Regions from separate parts of the Homo sapiens genome. Here all the other regions are linked to region 2. The links are contacts of gene promoters, found by promoter capture Hi-C in human tissues and cell types (Jung and others, 2019). All regions are on one chromosome and are shown on one strand. The core of a region is centred on a gene start or on the middle of the fragment in contact, and the rest is flanking DNA. Distances in the headings are between cores, read along the strand shown. Region 1 has its middle 180 kb from the start of LINC01913. Region 2 holds the start of THUMPD2 (THUMP domain 2 tRNA and snRNA guanosine methyltransferase). Region 3 overlaps LOC105374497 (a long non-coding RNA gene).

Region 1 (4,347 bases), core at 1,091-3,590, 1.9 Mb before region 2:
GGACTTCAGGGTTGTGATACAGTTCTGTTGTTTTAGCTACCTAGCTTGTGGTACTTGTTACTGCAGCTTTAGGAAGCGAATACACTGGGCTTATAAAATGAGCAAATTCATCAGCAAAGGGGGATTTTCTACATCTGTGGACTCCTTTTACCCTTTCTTTTGCTTTGTGTGCTATCACAGCTCTTACTCAGCTATTGCCCCTACCACAGTACCTCATCTTTCCTTTCCTTTTAGAGAAATTGTATAAAAACTATGGTATCCAGAAAGGATAACTATTTGATAGATTAATCTGGCTTCGACAGGCAATGATTTACTAAATGACTGTTGAATATGCTTAGAATGTCCAACTCTGGCAAATTTGAGAAATTTCAGGTTGCATGGATATATTTTCTATAATCCTAGAAGTAAAGGCCAACATTGTCTAAAAAATGGTGGACATTTTAGCATAGTCGATAAAGACTATTAACCAGAATGGAGGACACTTTATGTTATGAGTAGATGAATGTGTTTTATTCTATGAATAATGAGAGCTAAAAATAACTGCAAGAAAGGAGTGGCATGATCAGTTAAGAACTTTATTTAAAAATAATTACACATTTACAGGAAGATGTAAGGAAATGCACAAGGAGGTGTCATGCACTCTTTACCCAACCTTTCTTAATGTGAACATGTTGCATAACTGTAGTATGTAAAAAACAGGAAATTAACTTTGATATAATCCATAGGGCTTATTTAGATCTGGCAGGTAAATATATGCACTCATTTATATCATGTGTATGTGTGTGTGCAGCTTCGTGCAATTCTCTTTTTCTTTTTTATATAATTTTTTTGTAGAGATAGGGTCTTGCTATGTTGCCCAGGCTGGTCTTGAACTCCTGGCCTCAAGCCATCCTCCTAACATGACCTCTCAAAGTGCTGGGATTACAGGCGTGAGCCACTGTGCCTGGACTCCATGCAATTTTCTTATATGTGTAGTATCATATAACCACTATCATAATCAGGTTATGTAACTCTTTCGTCACCACAAGACTCGCTTGTGTTACCCTCTTATAGCTACACCCATTTCCTGCCCCATCCTTAACCCCTGTCAACCACTAATGGTTCTTTACCTCTATAATTAGGTCATTTCAAAAATGTTACATAAATGGAATCATGCAGTATATATTCTTTGACAGTGGCATTTTCCACTTAGCATAACTTCCTTGAGGCTCATCCAGGTTGTTGTGTGGATCAAGAGTTCATTCCTTTTTATTGCTGAGTTGTATTTCATGGCACGGATGCTCTACAGTTTAACCAGTCACATATTGAAGGGCATTTGGGTAGTTTTTGGCTATTACAAATAAAGTTATGACATCCATGTGCAAATTTCTTTGTGAAAATGCATTTTCATTACTCTGGGACGTATGCTCAAGAGTTCAATTGCTGGGTTGTATGGTAAGTCTATTTTTAGTTTTAAAAGAAAATGCCAAACTATTTTCCAGAGTGGTTCTACCATTTTACATTCTCACCTGTGATTCGGTTTCTCTACATCCTCTCCTGAACTTGATGTTACCAATTTTTTCTTAATTTTAGTCATTCTGATAGGTGTAGTTATATCTCATGGTAGTCTTAATTTGCATTTTTCTGATGGCAAATGGTGTTAAACACCTTTTCATGTGCTTCTTTGCCATCTGTGTATCTTCTTCTCTGCAATGCCTGTGAATGTCCTTTGGCCGTTTTTAGGTTGGATTGTTTGTTTTTATAATTGTAAGCATTGAGAGTTATTTATATATTCTAGATACAAGCCCTCTGTCAGATGTGTGATTTGTGAATACTTTCTCCCAGTCTATGGTTTATCTTTTCATTCTCTTAACAGGGTCTTTTGCAGGGCAGAAGTTTTAAATTTTGATGAAGTCCAATTTAGCATACAGAATTTTGCTGTCAAGGATATGATCCGTTTTACATTTTTGCATGTGAAGGATGAAAAAGAGATCATTGAATATGGGGAAAAGTAGATAGTTGCAATACTATTTCAGCAGTCCATTTGGAAAGGGCTGAAGTGTCAGTATAGCTGGAGACAAAGGTAGTAGACCTGAGAGAACTTCGTGATCAATATCATACAGGAAGCATTGGGGTGTCAGGTGACATTTGGGGTTTGGATTTACACAATTGTGTGAATAGTCTTCCCATTAACTGGGGCCATTATATGAGAGAAGAGCATGTTTGGAAGTTGGGGCCAGGGTGGCCAAGACTTGAGATTAGACACAATGAGCTTCCGGTGCTTATGGGACATTCAGGGAGAAAATATTTAGTGTGCAGCTAGAGAGGTGGGTCTAGACCTCGGGTGAGTGTTCAGAACTGAGGATGCAGACCTGGGCATCATTGGCCCTCAGGTGTGCTTGAAGTCACGGAAGTAAACGAGACCTCCTGGGGATGAGGTATATATGTTTCAATTCTGCATGAGAAAGCAGAAGACAGGAGGTCGATGCAGTGAATGATGTAGACAATCTGAAAACTAGACAAAGGTTAAGAAATTCCATGTTACCTTCCCTTACTAAGAAACTGGAGATTTGGGCAAGTGAGAATCTTTCAGTGAATCATTCAGTGTCTTCCTTTGGAAAGTAGAATCAGGGAATGATTTAAATTTATTTATTATTGAGTTGTTGAACCTTATATATATGAGAGTCAAGTCACCAGATCGATCCCTGACTTTTACCTCCAGTATTCTGTAACCCATCTTTTTATTCCAAACTTACCCCAGAGGAATGGAGTTCATCATCATCTTTAGTTTGGAATGAGAGAAAATCATTTCAGTCTGCTGCATCTACATAATGCCTCATGAAGCGAATACAAGATAATGAAAAAGAAAAGTTAAAAACCGTAATAGCTAATGGAAATAGGTATTTGAAGATAGGAGCCTTTGAGTAACATGTAATATCTAAGCCTTTAATTTTTAAAATGCTCAAGCACAGTGATTTATTTTCATGCTGTGAGTGAATGAAAGTTAAAGACTGAAATTCTTTTAAAATGAAGGCTGCTTCCTGTGCTCTCGTCAAATAATGGCGCTATGTGCTCAAGCTGGAAGCCCTCCCCGCCCTTAGATACGCTCGCTGTGCTTGTAGGAAAAGAAAATATGTAGGGAGGAATGGACCCCACTGTATTTAAAAGGGATTTGGGGAGGTTTTGTTCTTAGAGTCATGGCCAAAAAGCCTTGAAGGTCCTGACAATGACAACTGGATTCACCGGTGCAGCAGATTTTCCCAGCCACCAGCTCATAGACTCCTCCTCGCTCCCCTCCCTCTCTGTTTTCCTCACACAGAGTTCCCTTGCACATGGATTCCCACTAGCCGTTTGCTGTCAGGCTAAAAAGAGTGTTTGGCTAGAAATAAAAATTTCTCTTGAGTATGACACCTTCCAAGGAGGAAAGGAGATGCTAAAATGTGGGCAATCTCTCAGGGTCTCCAGGTGGACAGGAGCTGGGGAAGCGGAGATGTGGGCTATGCCAGCAGGTGGCAGTGTGAGCACGCAGCAAGACAAACAGAGACCGTTCCCCCCTTCCCCGCGCCGACCCCCCATTCCTGGGGACCAGGACCTGCCGCTGGTTCTGCACATCTTCAAGGTAGATTTCCAGCGTCCTACCTCCCACATTTCAAGTCCTGGTCGAATGCCGTAAAAGCTTTTCCACTGGATAATTTATAGGAACATCCCTTTTCTCTCTTCTTGCCAGTGGCTTATTTTGAAAGGCTGAGTTCTTTGAATAAATGAGCAACCTACACAATATGAAGGGAAATAAAACGCTTTATAGCCGTTTGATGGCAAGTGTTTGTCTGCCTTAAGCACGCCAGTGGCAGAAAGATAAAATAAGGACAAGGTCGTGGTTTTGATCTCTGCTGAGCCCAATTAGCTTTGTTCTATAGTGTGCCCGAGGGCCTCACCTTAAATAAGTTTAACCACCTGGAAATGCTTGTTTTGCATATGGGGGTCAATGCTGAAGTACTGCTCACTCAATACCTAGAAATTCACTAGGGTTAAAAAAAGATTAGCTTCAGAGTCATGCAGACTTGAGTCCAAATCCCTGCTCTATCACTCACTAGCTGGGCAGCCTCGGGTAAGTTACTCTCTTGGAATCTTTCTTCCCATCCCTGTAGGTTCTGTGTGAAGGTGATAGACAATGTACATGAAATGCCAGGCACACAGCAAGTACTCAACCAAAGGTAGCTAGAAATAATCTAACATCCATTTACTGTTCCCATGACAATTCACCTGGATTCTTTGTACACCAAGGAGAATCTGGTTTTGTCCTTATGTTCCTTTGAAAGTACATTTAACTCTTTGCTTCAGTGGATCATCTAGTTTAGAACCTTATTC
Region 2 (4,265 bases), core at 799-3,298:
ACATCAGAAGAAAGAGGAGAAAGTAAGGGGAAGATCGATTGGCTCTGCAAAACTGCAGCCTCAGCTCAGCTGTGGTTTCACCCAGGCCAGCACACTGCTGGTCGGTGCTGGACTGAATAGGTCATTTCATTTTTTCAGCTGCCTTTGGTTGTACTGACATAACTGGGCCCCTACCCACCGCTCTACCGCATCTCTATCTACTCCACTCATATACTTTATGCTCTAATAACACTTAACCGCTATCGTGGCTTTCCTGTTCCCCACCCCCCACACGCCGTCTCATTTTCATCTGCTGCTTCTCCCTCTTACACATCCTTCATGCTGGACTCAAGAGCGATTTTGTCCAGGAAGCCCTCCCTGCCTCCTTTTTGTCGGTGCTGTCATAGCTTCCCGGGTATGTCCTCAGTGAGTCATTCAACTTCACCATCCTCTAAGCCCTTGAAGTCCAAACCCTTGCTTACCCATCTTTGAATCCTCAAGACAGGGTGGTGACTGGCGGAGAATAGGTGTTCAGTATTTGTTGAACTGAATGGAATGCATCCTATCTGCATACTTAACATCTTGGGCACAGAATGTAGAGAGAACTAAAGAGGGTTCCTGTCCTCCCCAGACAGACTTGACAGTCAGAACCCCAAAGTATAGAGAAGTTAAAATGAACTACGGCAGTAGCCCAGAAAAGGAAAACATGTGTCTGAGGGCAAGAAAAGAATTCATCAAAACGGTAGTGTGTGAGGGCTGGGTGCCTGTAATCCCAGCACTTTGGGAGGCCGAGGCAGGCGGATCGCTTGATCTCAGGAGTTCGAGACCAGCCTGGCCAACATGGTGAAACCCCTTCTCTACAAAAAATACAAAAATTAGCCCGGTGTGGTGGGGCTTGCCTGTGGTCCCAGCTACTGGACAGGCTGAGGTGGGAGGATTACTGGAGCTCAGGAGGTGGAGGCTGCAGTGAGCCAAGATCACGTCACTGCGCTCCAGCCTGGGCGACAGAGGGAGACCCTGTCGCAAAAAATAAAAAATAAAAAGCAGCATCAGAAGAGTCTTAGGACTGAACCTTGGAAAAGCTCATGTTATGTGACTCCATGAAGAATTTTTACTGTACGGCCCAGTAGAGCATGAGCTGGGTGGGGGCGGGGGTGTGTGTGGGAGTGTCGGGGGAGGTGAGGGAGTATCAGTTCTTCACCTTAACATCCCATTCTGAAGCACAGGACAGCCCCTTGTCAGAGACACACATGCATTTATCATTTCTGTATAACTGACTCAATATACAGCTACAGAGCTAATTTCACGCTGTTTATCTTGTAACATGGATTCTGTCTATGCTTCCCAAGTAATATTTTCATTTCCATTTTAAAATTCAGAGTTTAGAAAAATGCCTTCAAATACCGTTAGGAGAACCATTCAAATCAGGTGCCCAAAACTAGATGGCACATTGATTCATCTATGGCTGGATGGTTAACTAAGTAGTGCAAGAAATATGAGCTGTTTCAGAACGCAGACGTTTGTTAGAGAACAGGAACTTCTGCTCTCCGTCCTGGAGATTCCAACGTTTGGCCCGATTCTTTGTGAAAACAGACCAGGGCTCCTTCTATGAGAAGAGTAGAGGAGAGGAATGAAGGACAGGAAGAGGACGGAGTTGGGAGGAATGGAGGAAAAGGCATTATGTTAGATAGGGAGAAATCTAGGCTCCAGCCTCAGCTGTGCTGCTAACTCGCTGTCTCTTGACCTCTCTGGGCATTAATTTCCTCAATCTACAAAATAAGGCAACTGGACTGAATTATCAATTCTAACCCTTCCACCTGTGATTCTAACCCATTCTGGTGCCTAATCAAGGAGGGGACAGATGGTCAACCAGGAAGACCCATAGGGGCCACAGAGGGCTGATGCGACCCTCCCAGGCTCTCCGTCTCTCTCACCCTCTCCTTCCCCCTCCCTCTCCCCCTCCCCCTCTCCCTCTCCCTCTCCCTCTCCCCTTTGGCATCACACGCCCCTGCGCGCCGCCTCCAGGAGCGAGCCGCTCGCGCCCGAGGCCACGTGACCCGAAGGCGCGAGGGCGCGCCTGAGCCGCCATGTCGGAGGCGCGTGGAGAGCCAGGGTCCGGGCCTGAGGCTGGCGCCCGATTCTTCTGCACTGCGGGTCGCGGCCTGGAGCCGTTCGTAATGCGAGAGGTGCGGGCGCGGCTGGCGGCCACGCAGGTGAGTTGGCCTCGCTGCGCGCCTGGGGAGGTGGGCGGCCCTGTCCCTGCCCTGTTGCCCACCCCAGTCGTGGACGCGGGAAAGCGTCGCTGGCGCCCCTCTCTGTTCCACGCGACGGTCGCCGACCCCCGAGGTTGACTGGCAGGCGCTTCCGCTCCGGCCGAGAGAAGCCACCATTCCTTTCTTTCCTTGTATAGCAAATCCAGTTCCTCACTTCTCAGGGCTCAAGTTTTTAAGAGAGGTGTTGAGGCAAGTTATTTCCTGGATTCTTTAAAGTAGTAAGTAGTGCCTGTAATTAGAATCTGGCCTGTCAGAGTTAGAACCCTTCGCTCTTTAAATGCAAACATAATCTCCAAGTTCAGTTACCTGACTTTTTGTTAGTTTCTTGACAGTGATTGTATTTGACTACATAGGATTGTTGTGAGAATTAAATTATATAGCGTATGCAAAGTACACTTTAAACACGCAGTAAATAGCAGCCAGAAAAATAATATACTCTTGCAGGCCTCATAGTTATCTGTTATTGATTTCTGTGAAATGAACAAGGTTTTAAGCATCGGTTTAGGTTTTAGAATGTTGAAAACTGGTTTCTTGAAAGTAGGGGATGAAGGTATAATAGAAAAGGTATCTTGATGGGGTGTATGGGACACTGTGAGTGATGTACTCTTGGAAAAGGAGAGCTTCCTAAATGAAATTAACCCCTCCACCCTGGCAGCTCCTACAGTGTGGGAAGCCCACAAAAGGAGTTTCTGCAGTGAAAGGTTGGAGTCGTGAAGAATTATGTCAGTTTTGTTAGACTACCTGCCACTTGTGTTTTGGGTCACAGAATTTAATAGAGTATTGAATGTAGCTAATCTTAAAAAGCATCAATATATAATAACTACTGACATTTATTGAACATTTAATATGTGTCAGGCACATGTTCTTAGATCTTTACCCTATATTTATTTGCGTACTTTTCACAACAGCCCTATAAGGTAGGTGTTCCACATTTAACAGATGAGAAAAATGAAGCACAGGTAAGTCCGAGAATTTATTCAAGTCATGCAACTAGAAAATCGCAAAGATGGGATTCAAACCCGAGCTGGGAAATCAAGAATGAGTATATAATCATGTTCAAACCAGGCCCACTATATGACCATGACATAGGGGTGCGCTGGCTTGTTTTTTTAAATGCTAACTTAGAGTGCTTGGTATGAAAGAGAGAGAGAGCTTGGCCCAATTAATATGTAGGATTATTAGAAAAAGGAAAGACTCTCTGCTTGTTCTCCATCTTCTCTAAAGACAAATGAAATGGGGAAAACTTTATTACCAGGAAGAAAATTCAATTAAATACAGGGAAAACTTTTTGACAGTGGGAGTAATTAAATGCCAGTAGATTTGGGAATTTCCATATTCTGCTCTTGTATGTTTGAAAGATAGATAGGTCTGGAAATGGGATCTGAACAAATAATCTCTGAAATTCCACCCAAGTTGCTCTGATACAAAGTGAACTCTCAAAGTTAAGGCAATCCTGAAATAACAGTGATGACAACTAACATTTATTAAACACTTAAAATGTTAGACAAGTTATGTGCATGTTATGATTTAATCCTCAAAAGACTCCTATCTGATAGACTTTTACCTCCATATTTTACCAAAAAAAGAGAAAATTGGGACTTGTCTCTGAGTCTCTCTAGCTTTAAAGCCCATGTGCTTTACCACTAGGCTAAATTACCATGGGAATCTTCCCTGGAACATTGGATGTAGTTTATTTCTGTAACACCACGGTAGAGTACGTATGGTCTTTAGAATCAAAAGACCTGTGTGCAGATCTTATATATTCCTTTAGTGGATTTGTAACTTTGGGCAAATTACTCAAATTTCTGAGCCTCAATTTTCTTGGATGTAAAATAGAGATGATAGCTACTTTAAAGGATTACTGCAGTCCCTGAAATAAAGATAGCACAGGTAGCATGCTGCCTAACAAATAGTTGGTGCTCAATTTTAGTTCCCATACAATGAGTTGTACAGGAATACTTAAAACATTCTTTCAATGATAAGAGAGTGTTAGAAACTTTGGATCGCATCAAG
Region 3 (4,265 bases), core at 1,309-3,808, 1.1 Mb before region 2:
GCTTTTGTATACATTTCATAGAATTTTGGGGAGGGTAAAATGAAACAAGGTAGCTATATATGTGTAATGGGATAATAATCTGTAGAAAATCAAGCTTATTATAATTTTAAACTATCAATAACACTTCTACAGATTATCTAAGGCATAATGAATCGATTAAAATAAAGAGTTTTCTAGTTTATTCTCTTATTAGAAATGTTTGGCATTGTCATTTTATGCACATTCTTTTCTTAAGAAAGATTCTAGACCAACTGGTACCAAGAATGCTGATATTATTATGTACATCATCTCCTGCGTTAGAACTAGAGACAAACATACAACTAATTATTTGTAAAACGTCTGTCAGTTTTACTGAGTCCTCAGGGCAGAAGGAAACTGTTATTAAATCTAGGCCTTTGTATTGATGAGGGCAATCTATGGACCAACTTCACTTGACATTTAACAAAACTGTGGGTGGTCATTACATATTTTGAGCAAGTAAATAAGTAAAGGTCTTCTGTGTGCTCTAATACATAACCAACTCTGCAATTTTAATTTTATTTCAAAATCCTCAGTGGGCAAAAACCTACCAACACAGCCACAATTTTTTTCTAGAGCTTGTTTATCTTTCAATTTTTTTGCTCGTACATGCCCTCTTATCTCCTCCATTTTAAAGTATTATACATTTAAAATATTGTACCTGTTAAATAAGTGATGTGTGTTTTCCCTTTTCTAAATTTCTCAAGGAAGAGTATTCTCTCATATTTCTAGTTTATGTTGAGGCTGTACTGCCTCAAGAACCCTCTTGAATAGAGAGTCCCAATAATAATCAATGACATAATAATGTCTAAATTTTTCTTATTCATTCTAAAATAAGAATAAACAAAAATGCATATAGGCAATTACCCTATTACTTCACTGTCACCAAAGCATAGTAAGCCCTCATTTAAAATCATTGATAAGTATGTGGAAATTATGACTTTAAGCAACACACATATAATGAAACCAAATTTTTTCTCATCAACTAAGGATGTTATTTGAAGAGCTGTTACACATTGATTTACTTAAAGTCACAGTTTCCAAGAATCTATCAATAACATTAAGTAAGGACTTAGTATGTCTTACTGAGTTGTACTGTGGATATGTAGTTTTTGGCAATGTGTACTTTTATATATGATTTATGATGAACACCACATCTTGACTTTCATTGTGTTAAACTGCTAGAATGAAAATTACATTAGAAAGTCAGGGCATAGACTCTGAATTGTTTCAGGGTTTTATAAAGTAAGAAGATGCTTTCTGTCCTTAAAGTGTTTTAAATCTAAGAACAAAATAAGGCAAAGATACCTCTTTTAGTCATCCATTAAACCTATATTGAGCATCTTCAATCTGTATCCTTCAAAGAGTGGGCACTAGGAAACAATAATTACATATAAATGAGAGACAAAAAAGAAGGGGTAGCTATATGAGTAGTAGAGTGAGACAGAGGAAAGAAAATGGCCTTTAAAATCAGAGCAAGCATCTGGTACTTACCAAATCTAGCTATTGATTAAATCACTTACATTCTCTAAGCTTCAATTTCTTCACTCATGGCTACATCCTAAAATGTTATATAAAGGGAGTAAAAATTCACATATTGTCTTAATTAGGAGATAAAATAATTCTTAAAAGAAATTGGTGTACATTTTGAAGTCTTGGAGCAGAGGGAGGAACAGGAAAAGAAAATGTCTTTTATTTATGATAGATAGATAGACAGGAGATGAAAAGCAGCTATTTAGCAAAGTGCCCTTTCAGTAAACCGAGCTCCGACAGCTGTCAAATACCATCATAAGTTTGAAAAGATCTGTGTCAGTCAGTCCTGGTAAATTGTCTGTAGAAATTAGAGTTACAGTATCACCTGGCTGAAGCATCTGTCAAGAATCTGATTATCTCTTCACTGTTCGTCCATACTTGACTTATTTTTTAAACAGAAGCAAAGCATTATTTTGTAAATAAGAAATAAGTTTGCAATATAAATACTAATAGAAATAATATTGTATAAGTAAATGAAGACCACCTAAATGAGGGCAAGCAGAGGCGATTTATGCAAAGCTTGCAATAAGAAGGAAGGCAGCCACCATCAGTTGCATTTGGGAGAGATATACAGGCAAGTAGGAAAGTGTGAAAAGGTTAGAGTTTTCGTTTGTTTTTAATGGAAGGCTTCAGATATGCTCATAGTGGAGGTTGCTGGCATGGGGAAACTAGAGGCAGGCTGAAAGGAGTGGAGCATCCTCTGAGATTGTTTTGGGAGCATTTTTGGCTTTCTCTAGTTCATACTAAATTGGAAGCAGAAAGCTGGGGCAAAAATTAGGGAAGCTGGAAGTTTTTGATCAAGTCCTGACTATTCTGAGCCACACGCTGCAGAGGTTGTGGTTTGATTTCCCAAAGTGGTTGTTCTAGAGGTTGTTGGTCAGAGTTCTGTTTTCATGTTGAACTGGTCATTGTCCATTTGTTTATTCAGTCTCTCCATACATACAGATTTATTGCCAAAGTAAAATCTGTCAATTATTCAGCTAATATAAATTACTGATAACAGATTTTGGATCAAATTGATTAAATTACATGATTAATTGAGGTATCAAAAATGAGAAGGAGAAAAGGGAAAACAAGAGATGAAGTTTGGAGGAGATGCAGGATAATGCAGTAAAAAATAACGTCAAGTCAATGGCAGAACACATGAATGAACTGTGCCTAGCTGAATAATTATAACACAGCTTAGGGTCCATGGATAACAACAGCACACATATTCTATTAATACATATTTATTGATTTCGTATAATCAAAACTCTTTGCTGGAAATAGAGATATTAAGAAAAAATGTCATTGTCATTGTTCTCAGTTATTTTCAAGGTGTGGAATTTCTTTACGAACCCTCCAGAATTCACTGCCCTCAATTTCCTTCAGCAGAGTAGGCTGAAAACATTTTCTCAGTTATTAAGACAGGCATTTTCTCCTTCTTATTCACCTAATACCTGCCTAGTGATGAGAAAACTACTCTGGGACCTGAATTCCACTCTCAAGGAGGCCCTACACCAGTCCTCTGAGGCTTAAGACTGTGCCATTACCTTGTCTTCAGTCACAAAAGCCACAGACATGCATTTGGGGAGTCAGAATAGGGTCCAGCCTTCAGGCTTCACCCATATTTGTTTATTTTGTAGTCGCTATATTTGTAGTCACTATAATAATGGCTGTATCATTGTTTTACTTAAACCTTCAGGGGGTATGAGTATTTTCTGTGCATATCTTTTAATTAATGATTGATTTTTCAATAACTCTAAAGTTTGACTACAATTTGTAATTTTTAATGAACTATAAAAACATAAGAAGTTTCATAAGGAAATCAGTTGAGTACAAAATACCTGGTTCATTTGGTTTTAGTTCAGTGATGTCTTGTTAACAATTGAATTATAGAAAGGAATAAAAACAAAATTTGTCCTTGGGTGAAAACTCTTTACATAAAGAGTTTATTTTATTTTCCTGTTAATTCAAAACATTGCAGAGAATGTGATTAATATCCCTCTACTAAGCTTTGAATAATGTATAGGATAGCTCAGTATCACCAGGGGACAGAAGGAGTTTTAAAAATGAAAGCACCTTTAGCAGATGAGGTCATTACATACACTTAAACTGTATAAATATATTCTCAGTTGGAGTCCCGTCTATAATATGATTCAACATTTGCAGAAAGCTCTTACTTGTTTTCTTTTTTAAGAAGATTCATTTGTACTTTTGAAGGACATCTTTTTAAAGGAAGTGGAACTGTTCTAACGATCCACTTGATCTTCACTCCTCTTTTTATTTTCTCCTTACTGCCTTTCCTTCTTGTGTTGTTTTGCTAAATTGGCTTCCTTTTTCTTAACACGGCATGCTTTGAGTGAATTTATTTTTGCTTAGTGAATCTCCACACTCATGAAATGATTAGGCTTCCGCTTACACAAAGGCTTTTCAGAAGTAATTGAATATATAGTCATCACGAACATATTGCATTGTGGACAATTTTGTTATGCTTCTTTAAGGAGGGAAGGGAAAGAAAGACCTGAGGCTGGTGAACAACACAGCCTTGCCCTTTGTATATATAATATACTGTCTTTTGGGGGGACTTTTATCCAAGGAGTTACCACTTGTTAATTCACTAGGTCACTTGGATCATTTGCACATATACACACCAACTTGTTAAAAACAACGCTGAAAGCAGCAAACAATGAAGATTGGGTTGCTACTAGGATAAAACAGTTTGCTGCTATTTA

The links. Contacts are between HindIII fragments. The study calls those that stand out against the background at their distance.
Region 1: a contact is called between a fragment that was not itself captured here and the fragment with the promoter of THUMPD2 in region 2, in 1 of the 25 tissues and cell types used here (mesenchymal stem cells).
Region 3: a fragment that was not itself captured here is called in contact with the fragment with the promoter of THUMPD2 in region 2 in 1 of the 25 tissues and cell types used here (lymphoblastoid cells).

What each region holds. Positions count from the first base shown.
Region 1 is chr2:41,698,136-41,702,482 of GRCh38, reverse strand. No RefSeq gene overlaps it. Among named protein-coding and RNA genes, the nearest start is that of LINC01913, 180 kb to the left of the region's middle. The HindIII fragment of the contact is 9,972 bases long and covers 1-4,347 here.
Region 2 is chr2:39,777,041-39,781,305 of GRCh38, reverse strand. THUMPD2 (THUMP domain 2 tRNA and snRNA guanosine methyltransferase) reads left to right here and starts at 2,048. Exons shown (of 10, transcript NM_025264.5): 1 at 2,048-2,192. The coding sequence starts at 2,067. The HindIII fragment of the contact is 6,344 bases long and covers 1-4,265 here.
Region 3 is chr2:40,872,123-40,876,387 of GRCh38, reverse strand. The region is part of intron 1 of LOC105374497 (a long non-coding RNA gene); the gene reads left to right. Among named protein-coding and RNA genes, the nearest start is that of LINC01794, 130 kb to the right of the region's middle. The HindIII fragment of the contact is 3,469 bases long and covers 824-4,265 here.